4 separate regions of the Homo sapiens genome follow, and regions 1, 2 and 4 are each linked to region 3. Evidence: promoter capture Hi-C in 16 types of primary human blood cells and fetal thymus (Javierre and others, 2016). All regions are on one chromosome and are shown on one strand. Each heading gives the region's core, a stretch centred on a gene start or on the middle of the fragment in contact. The rest is flanking DNA. Distances are from core to core; before and after follow the strand shown. Region 1 overlaps NRP2 (neuropilin 2). Region 2 overlaps FAM117B (family with sequence similarity 117 member B). Region 3 holds the start of CTLA4 (cytotoxic T-lymphocyte associated protein 4). Region 4 overlaps NRP2 (neuropilin 2).

Region 1 (2,700 bases), core at 104-2,603, 1.8 Mb before region 3:
GGGAATGGAAATCTGTTCAAACATTCTGAAAGGCATTTTGGTGAAATGTGACAGAAGTTAATATGTACATAGCCTTTAATCCAGCAATCCTACTGCTAGGAATTTTTCCTAAGAAAATAATCAGACAATTGTGCAAAGATGCATATGCATCTTTGTGCATATATTTTGAAAAAATATAAAAAGTGGGAGGATATTTTGCTTATAAATGGTTTCAAAGCCCAACCGTAGAGGGAGGGTGAATCCATCTGGGATATTTATAAAATGGAATACTCTCCTGCTACAATCAATAGTCTGCAGGTCTAGAATTTTTTGTTTTTATGGAAAAATGTTCACGCTATACTGTTAACTTTTTAAAAAGGAGATTTTTTAAAAGTATGTTTTAAAAGGTATACATACATTTCCTCACATAAACATACAGAGGAAGTCTGAAAGACTACTAAAATATGAACAATGGCGACAGACATGGGTGGTAGGATAATTGGTAATTTTTTCTCTCTTCTTTGTAAAAGAATCCAGCTGTCATGATTTAGCAGATGTAGAAGGAAGTTCATCATCATCACCATCATCATCCATGTCACAGAACTGGAGTGAGGAATAAATGAGACACAGTAGGTCGGGACATCTGGAACAGTGCCAAGGACATGACCCACATTCAATAAATAATTTTTTAAACTTTTTTTTTAAAGCTTCACCAGATAGTTCCAGTCTTTGTGTTGCCAATTTCTCTAGGAAGGACAAAGAGAGGCCCTGCCATCCCACTGGCTTGTTCATCAGAAGTGAGAGGGTTTTATCTGGTTGCCTAATCACCCATGGAGTCATTTAGGGGATTAACAGAATCAGCAATGAAGCAGGGCTGCCCAACAAATGCCACTGTTACAAGCTTGCCTCAATTTACTCAACGGATACAGACCACCCCAAATCCCTTCTTGTAATGCTGCCTGCAACAAATACATCCTTATGTATCTAACACACATATAGAGAAGGGATGCATTTTTGAAAAAGCTTCATATAATTCAATCATACTATAAATTTTTTCTCTGAGCTTGTTAGTTAAAGGACCCCTCTGCTGAATCCTTTTGTGAAGCAAATAATCAACAAACCTTACTTGAACTTCTTAGAAAAACTAGATTTTTCTATAAGGTTTGCTTGAGGGGAAGTGACACAGAGTTACAGTTCGGCAGCTGAAATCCCCCCAACTTCCAGTCTTCTGGTTCTGCCCTGTGGACAAGCCCCACTTAACCACATGGTCTTCTGGCTGGGCCTTTTATATAAAGGGCACACTCCAAATGACATGCTGACTTCATACAGAATGTCTCATTTACCTCCTGTGTGACTGACTCATTTGGGGAAATTTTTTATTATGAGGGATTTGCTACAGCTGGAGTAAATCTCCTTAGAAATTTCAGTGTTGTCAGGTTCATTTGTGAAGAGTTAGGCAGAGGCTTAGGAAGTTTCTGGCTTTGGAATAAATACGGCTTTGCATCTAGTGTCTAATATCCAGTGTTTGGTAAAGGAATCCGGGGTACAGACTCAGAGCTCACCCCAACGATAGTCAAGTAGGATAACTTGAAAAGCTGCTCCTCTTAGAACGTATCACTCGTTTTCCAGAAGGCAACATAAACCAGCTAACAGACATATTAACTAGAGTGTTTGCATTTCATTATCCATAATCTCTCCTAAACGAAAAATTCCTTTCAAAGCTTTAACACTACCTTGTATTGTTTTATTTATTTTTTTCCTGAGCTGAAGTAGCCATCTCTACTCCCAGTTCTTTATTTTCTCTCTAAAACGGTTCCCCGAGTGCCTTTTTATTTGTCTCCTCACAGATTCTGAAGTCTGCATGGTGAGCATTTGTCTAGAGAATGCTTTCTCTACTTTCTTTCTCAACTTCAAAGTCTTACATTTCTCTCCCCAAACCTACATTTGGGCCATGGGAAATTTTGACAGTGAAGTTAATTTTAAGAGTCCACGGGAGAGATATGAAAAAGCAACAATCTCATCTCTTCCTCTCATCACTAGGCAAACATGAAAAAGGGCTTTCTAGTTTCCATAACTGTCTCCACGCTTGACACTTCCCAGCAGGGCACCAAAGGCTGGGTTAGTCAACGGAGCCTGTGCTGGAAGATTCACCAAGCTTAGGTCCTTCTCTCAGGGCACCGAAATGTCTGGCCCTTGTCAGAATCCAGCTTTAGGGATGCCACACAGAACCACTTGGAAGGGGATTTCTGTATCGAAGATAGAGTACTTAGGTCTTCGGAGGAAGAATACTCTGCCCCTTCTTTTGGGTCTACGTATCAGAACATCTCTGCCCAAGTCCTGACATCATAACCTTTGCCAACCAAGCAAGGCCTCCTTTCACACTGCTCATCATAAGATCATAAGATGTTGAAGACATTTTGTATATGGTGAGCTCTTTCCAACCCCAGGGCCTTTGCAAGCGCTCTTTCCTCTGCCTGCAGTACTCCTCATTGGTGCTTTCCAGGGCTGGTTGTTGCTCATCCTTCAGGCTTAAGGACAAATGTTACCTCCACAGAGAAGCCTGCTGTCACCACCCTATTTCAGATGGCATGCCCTTATTCTCTATCTCACCATCATCTTACTTCTTTCATAGCTATGATTATAATCTGGAAAGGTCTTGTCAATATACCTATTTGTTTATGATCTGTCTCCTGCACCAGACAATAAGCACCATGAAGGCAA
Region 2 (2,700 bases), core at 165-2,664, 1.2 Mb after region 3:
TCAACCTAGCATCATTTAACAGCAAAAGGCTAGAAATGATCTAAATGTTTATAAATAAAAGCCTGATGAAATAATGCATGGTCCACTATAAACCTATGTGCACAACGACATACACGCACACACACACACATACATACATATATATATATGTATTTTTTGTTTTGGGGGGGGGGTGGGGACAGAGTCTCGCTCTGTCACCCAGGCTGCAGTGCAGTGGCGCAATCCTGGCTCACTGCAACCTCCACCTCCCAGGTTGAAGCAATTCTCCTGCCTCAGCCTCCCAAATAGTTGGGACTACAGGCGCACACCGACCGCTATACTCGGCTAATTTTTTTCTGTATTTTAGTAGAGACGGGGTTTCACCATGTTGCCCAGGCTGGTCTCGAACTTCTGAGCTCAGGCAATCTACACATCTCGGCCTCCCAAAGTGCTAGGATTAAAGGCATGAGCCAACAAGCCCAGCTGACATATGCATATATCTGAATATACATAGAATAGCTCTGGAATTATACAAAGAAACAACTGGATTTCTCTTGAGAAGAATGAACTGAGACAAACAGCAAGAAGACTGCTGACTGTATTCTCCTTACCATTTATAATTTTTATCATGTGCACATTATTGCCTGCAAAGAAAGAATGGAGTAGGGGAGAGAGGAGAGGAAAGAGAGACACATTCTGGTAGGTAAATTAAACCATACAATTACAGAGTTAGTTCCTTGAGGGCGAAGACTCCAAGCAGCAGCCTATACTAGCTCATGAAGAAGAAGAAAAATGTCAGTAAATTTCTTTTGGGTTAAACTAGCACTAATTTCATCTCAACTGCTACATGCCAGCCTCAATCAAAAAAATGTCAGATACTTCCTATTAAATAATACTAACAGAATAAAAATACATAAACTCACTAGAACAATACACGGGAAAAGAGGCAAGAGCAAAAACAAGTTTTCAACCAAGTTGTTTTGGAAGCAGATGTTTAGGTGATAACTTTGCTGCAGCCTGATCCTATGCTCCACCCAAGATTTCCTCATCTGCCCCAAAATAAGTTCTAGATTTCTATGGAAAGAATAAAGTCTTGTCATTCACATGTAAGCGATGAATATTTTGCTGTAGTTTTCAAATTCTCATATGCATCAACAAGCTTCTTCTTGTTTAACAAGCATCAAGATCAAAGAAGAAAGTTTCATTTCAGTTGAATATGAAATCTGGGTGTGCTCATTTCAAGCTCAACCCAGAACTGAGTATTTGTACAGAAAAAAATATATATACACGTTTTGTTGAAATAAATAAACTGTTTTTTTCAGTTTTGAAAATATCACTTTTTATGTACAGGTCTAGAATAGAGACCAAGAAATCGCCACACATTAATAATTCTGCTAGACCTATATTTGACACAGATCTTGTTACAGAAAAAGAAATTTTTGAAGCTCTCAGATAAAATTGTGTTAAGCTATATTTTTTTATATTGCCTTGCTTTATGGTTTTAGTAGCTTTTACTATAAACATTATAAATTTTCCTATTGTAAAAAATAACTTTACTAAGTTCATTTAAATTAAATATACCTTTAGAAAAAATAAATCCCATTTTGTCTTATATAAATTATTTAATCAAAACATTATGGTTGCCTTATAAGTTTTTAAAAATCTAAGAAAAGGGAAGAGATTAATTTCAAGAAAGGTAAGCTAAGCTTAACTGCACATTTTCCCCCAAAAAAAGTTAGTTAAAAATAACATGTTTAGTCTTAAAAGCTGGCTGGGGGTGTGCCTCTTGTACATACCCTAGATCACATAATATCTCATTAGCATCTTGTATACTAAAAACTGGGGATAAAACTATTGTTATCACTTAAACAAGGTAAAAAAAAATCATACAGGAATTTCTTTAGAAGGAAAAACTAAAGTTTCCTTTACTTCACTACTCACTTGCAATAATGATGATATCCTTAGGGGAGAGAGGAAAACCATACAAAATGAATAGGCTAATAAGATGGTCAAATAAACAGATTCATAGAGAAACCACTCGTACTCAAAAGAGCATAAATTATTACTAGAGCAATATATCTCAACTTCCTGGTGACAAATGCCTGGGTTCCCTGAGAAATGGAAACGATGCCAAGGAGTCTCCAGAACAAAAAGATTGGGAAAATCTGCGCTATAGAAATTAACGAGACAGGCTCTGGACTTAAGGACACTACACATATCCTTAGGCATGATACTGAGGTCTCTTCCCTGGGGAAACTGGCCCAAGAGAAGAAAAAAAACCTACTTTTGGGAGTCCCTGCGTCTTCTTTCTAGAGTAACATGCTCCAGACAAGCAGCCTGATCTAAACACAGAAAACATTTAATCAGCATTTTAATGTCTCACTTAAATATTAATAGAAAGTGGCCAGGCCAAGCGGCTCACGCTTATAATCCCAACATTCTGGCTGGTGGAGACAGGCGGATCACTTGAGGTCAGGAGTTCAAGACCAGCCTGGCCAACATGGTGAAACCCACCAAAATTAGCCAGGTGTAGTGGTGTGCCCCTGTAGTCGCAGCTACTCAGGGGGCTGAGGTGGGAGAATTGCTTGAACCCGGGAGGCGAAGGCTGAAGTGAGCCAAGATAGTGCCACTGCACTCCAGCCTGGGCAACGGAGCAAGACTCCATCTCAAAAAAAAAAAAACAAAAAACTTTTAGGCATTAACAGGACAAAGAACAAACAG
Region 3 (2,700 bases), core at 69-2,568:
AAATGCGGTCACACTCAACTTTCCAGTATTGGGAGGGTCCTGTTACTGGTTGAGATAAATTTACTTTAGGAAATTTAAATACTTCTAAGAGTGTTTATTTAATCTTTACATATTTAAAACATGTAAAAATAAGAAAACATATATGAATATTTCTTCTCCAGTAAAAATTAAATCATCAAATATCTTTTGAGTACCTACTTCATACAAACTACATGGTTTCTTAACCAAGAAGGTCTAGAGAGAGATAAGGTTGAGATTCAATGGATATACTCATCATTTTAAGCCGTGTAACAAACCTGGTGTCAGTCTCTGAAGAGCTGAAAACTGAGGATCTGCATCTGAAACCCACACGTAGGTCAGGCAACAATTAAGTATTGTATGCCAAACAGACTGGTGGCTTTCTTTCTTTCCTTTTCCTTGTCTTTTTTTTTTGGCAATTTCAAACTTTTATTTTTAAATAATTGGCTAATTAGCTAGTAGAATTGATTAAGAGAACCTTAAAACCTTGAATTAAGTAAAGAAGGCATTCTTCCCACAATTTCCCTACATTTTAAACAAGCTGGCTAATTCATTTATAAAGTATATGAATCCGAGGACCTTAAAACCTTGAATTGTATAGCAAAAAAACTCTTCCCAGGATTTGCTTAAGTCAATTTTTTTTAAAGGAACTTGTGAGCTCATCCTGAAACCCAGCTCAAATGTATTCAGGACTATGGCTATCCTTTCCCTCTTAAATCACTTCCAGTCTCATAGAAGGGTCTGAAATTGCCTGTGTCTCTCTACTAAACCAACTCACATGCATTCATGAAGCCCCTACTAAATACCTGGCGCTCTGTTCTGAGCTATCTCTTTGCCTTATTTGCTGCCGCCCAACTGCTCCCTGCTGGCCCTGGAATACAGAGCCAGCCAAGCCAGATTGGAGTTTTACCTTTAACTTCTGGCTTTGCTATAAATCACTGCCTTTGACTGCTGAAACAAATGAAACCCAGGTAGGAGAAACACCTCCTCCATCTTCATGCTCCAAAAGTCTCACTCACCTTTGCAGAAGACAGGGATGAAGAGAAGAAAAAACAGGAGAGTGCAGGGCCAGGTCCTGGTAGCCAGGTTCAGCTGAGCCTTGTGCCGCTGAAATCCAAGGCAAGCCATGGCTTTATGGGAGCGGTGTTCAGGTCTTCAGGAAGTAGAGCAAAACCTTTCAGGATCCTGAAGCTTTGAAATGTGTTTGAACCCACACAGAATCAAGGACTTTATATAGATAGCTTTGATCCCAGATATGTATTACACATGTGCACACACAGAAGGCACTTGAATAGAAAGCCTTTTTGTTTTGGTTTTACGAGAAAGGAAGCCGTGGGTTTAGCTGTTACGTCGAAAAGACAACCTCAAGCACTCAACTGAACAAAACAAGCCAATCCATGGATGGAAAATGTATTCAATTTGAAACTGAAGCTTCATGTTCACTTTGAGGATCTGGATAACTAAGTGGAGACTTGGAGAATTTCCTGGAGTACAAGGGTCCTCCTAAATCCCAATTTTATTCAATCTTCTGGGCATCCTTAACCATCCAGTCCAATTCATTTCATTGACAACTCCAAAACTACTAGGCTGCTAACTTTCTGAGCCCTTGGGCTAATGGCAGGATTTGTCTAGGCATCATTAATAAAAACTGTATTCTATCTGTGAAGCACCATCCTTCTAATGGTCCCTTGACAGCTTTACAAATAAGTTTATTTCTCCTAAATCCATTTAGCATTTGGTTAAGAGAAAAAAACTAAAATCACAAGAAATAAACTGAAAATAGGCGGAAAAGAAGCTGCCTCTGGTTTTGCAGAAGGAAAGAATTCAGGTGTTCTTAAAAGCCTTAACTCAACAGAGACAAAACAGAGTTGAAGAAGGTCCAAAGAAAAGCCAACCCAAATGATTCAAGAGATTAGAGCCGTCCATAAAAGGATAGACTTTTTTTTCTAATACAAATTTTTCAAGCAGAAAATTCAAAAGTGAAGATTAAATATAACCAGAGTCCTTAAATTTGTGACAGCTGTAGACAGGACCAATGATCTAACAAAAAGAATTTGAAACATTGAGGACCTTCCTTAAATCTGGAGAGTTTTCATACATTTTAATAAAGAAAGAAACATTCATGGGGAACCTGTAATATGCCCGGAATTCTGTGCACTTAGGATTGAATGATGACAAAACAAAAACATAGTTGATACCTTAAGGGGCTTCTAGAAGGCTGACATGCAAACAGACAGTTGTAACAGGGAATATGACATTTGCCTACTCCAGTCCGTCCATGGTTTCCCATTGTCCACACCTCAGCACAGCAGAGGAGACTCTGCAGAATACTCACCAAATGCCTCCCTCTTTGGCCTGTACCCCAGCATTCCCTCCCATTCCCCCTTCCTGCATTTGTCTTTCCTTCCACGTGCCTCTTTCAGGCCTCATCACCTTTACCCATGCTGTTCCTACTGCCTTTTTTCTCCTATTATCTTATTTTATACTCCTTCTCATCCTCCAGGACTTAGCTCAGCTGTCATCTCCTCCAGGAAGCCTCTTCTTTTTTTTTTTAAAATTTTATTATTATTATACTTTAAGTTTTAGGGTACATGTGCACAACATGCAGATTTGTTACATATGTATACATGTGCCATGTTGGTGTGATGCACAGAAGCCTTTTCTGACCTGCCTGTTTTCTAT
Region 4 (2,700 bases), core at 179-2,678, 1.8 Mb before region 3:
GAATTCAAACGACCTCCGCACGGTGGGTCTGAAAGAGAAATCAACGACCCAAAGAACTTCAAATATGTTACAACTTTCTTCCCCCCACACTCCCTCCTTCTCTTCTGTACCAGTGTCTGATTAAAACTATTTTACAGACCTTTTATGGCAGTCCAGAAGACTAACCTACTTACTCATTCGGTGGAAGAGATTATTCCGGCTCATCCCTCCCCCTACCCACCCAACTACACACACACACACACACACACACACACACACAGATGAAAGTATTCCAGAACATGGCCATAAATATTCTCAATTACATGGTCTGTGATTAAAAAAACAAGAGGACTGCAAACTCAACATGCCTCCCTGCCTTTCCTGCCTCCCCTCCTTGGCCCATCTTCCTCTCCTCATTCAACCTCCTATCTCTATCTTTATCTCATAAATCCTTCATTTTATTCGGTGTCTCCCAGCCCAGCCCAGGCAGCCAGCAGTCAGGGCTCTGGGAACTGACAATGGTGGTTTTGTGGTGCCGACCCACAAGCGAGCCTGGTAACAATTACATGTGGTGCAGAGGAAGCACTTTCAGCTTTGGGCCAGAACAGGCCCTGGAGGGTGATTGCAGCCTTTTTAAATTTTTTTTTAAGAAAAAAAATGCAAACCCCCCAAACATTTAATTCCATATATACCACAAATTTGATTTATTATTTCATTATACACCGAATGGAAAAATCTGTATTAGAGAATCTACTGGCTCTAGCCTTGGAATTTCGACAAAGGTGCTTTGTGTTGAATGAACATCTGTTTCTTCTGCGCTGTCTGCCCACTGTCCCTCCTGCCTGGTCACCACCACCAGAGTGTGCTGCTGCTTTGTCCAGCCATAACTGGCCGTTTGCAGGAAGGGCTGGCTCCCTGTACCTGCAGTGCCTGGCTGGAGGCAGACAGCTTCATGTGGCCTGGGAGGGAAGGGAGCCACCTTCAAAGGCTCCAAAGGTGGGTGATGACATTTGAGGAATCTCATCTATTCGGGAGTAAAGTTCTGCAATCCCCAGCAGGGATTCTTGGGAAATAGGGAGTTTTGCTTAAATACCACAGTAGAACAGAAGCTGGGAAGGCACATGAGACATGGAAATATTCAGAAGCCTCTCGGAGACCTTCCTGAGATGTGTGTGTCTCTTAGCATCAATCACGATTTAATATCGCCATCTGCATGGAGCAGCATGGGCCCGTGAATTATGTATTACGACTCAGCAGCCGCCCTCCAGGATGGGTCTTTCTCCTGTGTTCACTCTTTGAGGGAACAGGTCATGCATTTTTTAACTCTACAGGTGCACTTTACTATTCCCCATGTCTGTTGGCATTACTATCTCCCAGACCTCTGCTTTAGACTACCGGCCTGACAGGCTTTAAATGCATAAAAGATGGGCACGCTGCACACGGGTGGTTGGGACACAAATCCACACAAGTAGCCTTTTCGGCATCAAGCCTCCACGAGCTCAAACTGTGCCGTATTGAACTGCCCAGAATGGAATGAATTCAGGTCCATTTCCTACTGGGTGGAAAACAAAAGCAGCCGTTTCCTCAGGCTGGTACACAGCACATCATCTTCTTACCTAATGACCCTGCACCCACCCCAGCCCATGAAGACAATGAGCTCATCCCTCCCACCCAGACCACATGAGGCCAGCCATGAGGCCCAGCTCCTCTGCAGCCAATACCCATAGGCTTTCCAGGTGCCCACACCACTCACCCATGCTGGGAACCTAATGTCATCTAGCCAGCCAAATTGAGGCCCGTTGGTCCTGGCTTATGCACATGAAATAGGGTGGAGTGGTCCTCTGAGAAGGCAGAGGTGTGAGGACATAGATCACCAGCTGCTCTTACTCAACTAGCAGAAGGGGGAATTTTCTACCGGGTCCAGCTCCTCTGCCAGATATTTTGCAGAAAACTGCAGCCCTGCCACCAACTCACCCCAAACCACACTTTTTTGCCTTGGAATTCGTCAGAGGAAACCTGAGCTGAGCTCCTGTTTAGTAACTGTTATGGTTTCCACATACTCTCCACTCTCCCTACCCACACTCTCTCCCTCCTTTCCCCATCCCTTCCTCTACTTCTCTCCAATTACTCTTGAAAGGGGAACTTTTCTCCCTCAATTCCCCACACCCCAGGTTTAAACTTTTAGTAATTAGACCAGGCACACAGATCAGCAATAAAGACAGGAAACTTCTTCGCAGGAAGGTTTAATTTCTCATCTACAGCAGAAGTGATCATTTCTTCACCACCACCACACAAAAAAATTAAACTATATATATATCCCATAGCTGATAGTCTGTACTGTCTGCTGTTAAACCAAAAGAAAAAGGAGTCATCCATTGCTTTTTTTCTATCCTTTCTTTACCTGGAGAAAATCAGGGCAGTTATTGAAGTATCAGAGAACTCATTAGAACATCTGCTTCAGTTGTGTGTTGGTAACCTTTTCAATACTTACAAATTTATAAATTCACATTCTTGTTTGGCTTGCATTCACACCCAGAAACACACACAAACATAGATATTGAACATACTTCAAGTACATATACATATCAGTAATTCACACTTTAGTCCTATACATACGTTCACACCTTCTCATAAAATATCACACATCATTTGCACAAACATATATCCACAAAGATAAATACTAGAATTTCTGTTTTTATTTTTCTTGGAGAGAACAGAATT

What was found. Contacts are between HindIII fragments. The CHiCAGO score rates a contact against its expected background, and 5 or more counts as called.
Region 1: a fragment that was not itself captured here is called in contact with the fragment with the promoter of CTLA4 in region 3 in 1 of 17 cell types (M0 macrophages); the score reaches 6.1 in M0 macrophages.
Region 2: a contact is called between a fragment that was not itself captured here and the fragment with the promoter of CTLA4 in region 3, in 1 of 17 cell types (total CD4 T cells). The highest score is 5.5, in total CD4 T cells.
Region 4: a contact is called between a fragment that was not itself captured here and the fragment with the promoter of CTLA4 in region 3, in 2 of 17 cell types (M2 macrophages and M0 macrophages). The highest score is 5.4, in M2 macrophages.

The regions. Positions count from the first base shown.
Region 1 is chr2:205,711,280-205,713,979 of GRCh38, reverse strand. The region is part of intron 2 of NRP2 (neuropilin 2); the gene reads right to left. Among named protein-coding and RNA genes, the nearest start is that of NRP2, 30 kb to the right of the region's middle. The HindIII fragment of the contact is 698 bases long and covers 1,005-1,702 here.
Region 2 is chr2:202,645,992-202,648,691 of GRCh38, reverse strand. All of the region lies in intron 1 of FAM117B (family with sequence similarity 117 member B), which reads right to left. Among named protein-coding and RNA genes, the nearest start is that of FAM117B, 12 kb to the right of the region's middle. The HindIII fragment of the contact is 547 bases long and covers 1,141-1,687 here.
Region 3 is chr2:203,866,389-203,869,088 of GRCh38, reverse strand. It overlaps CTLA4 (cytotoxic T-lymphocyte associated protein 4), which reads right to left and starts at 1,318. Exons shown (of 4, transcript NM_005214.5): 1 at 1,038-1,318. The coding sequence starts at 1,146. The HindIII fragment of the contact is 240 bases long and covers 1,212-1,451 here.
Region 4 is chr2:205,694,872-205,697,571 of GRCh38, reverse strand. It overlaps NRP2 (neuropilin 2), which reads right to left. Exons shown (of 17, transcript NM_003872.3): 2 at 1-28. Among named protein-coding and RNA genes, the nearest start is that of NRP2, 14 kb to the right of the region's middle. RefSeq lists an enhancer at 1,274-2,108. The HindIII fragment of the contact is 9,122 bases long and covers 1-2,700 here.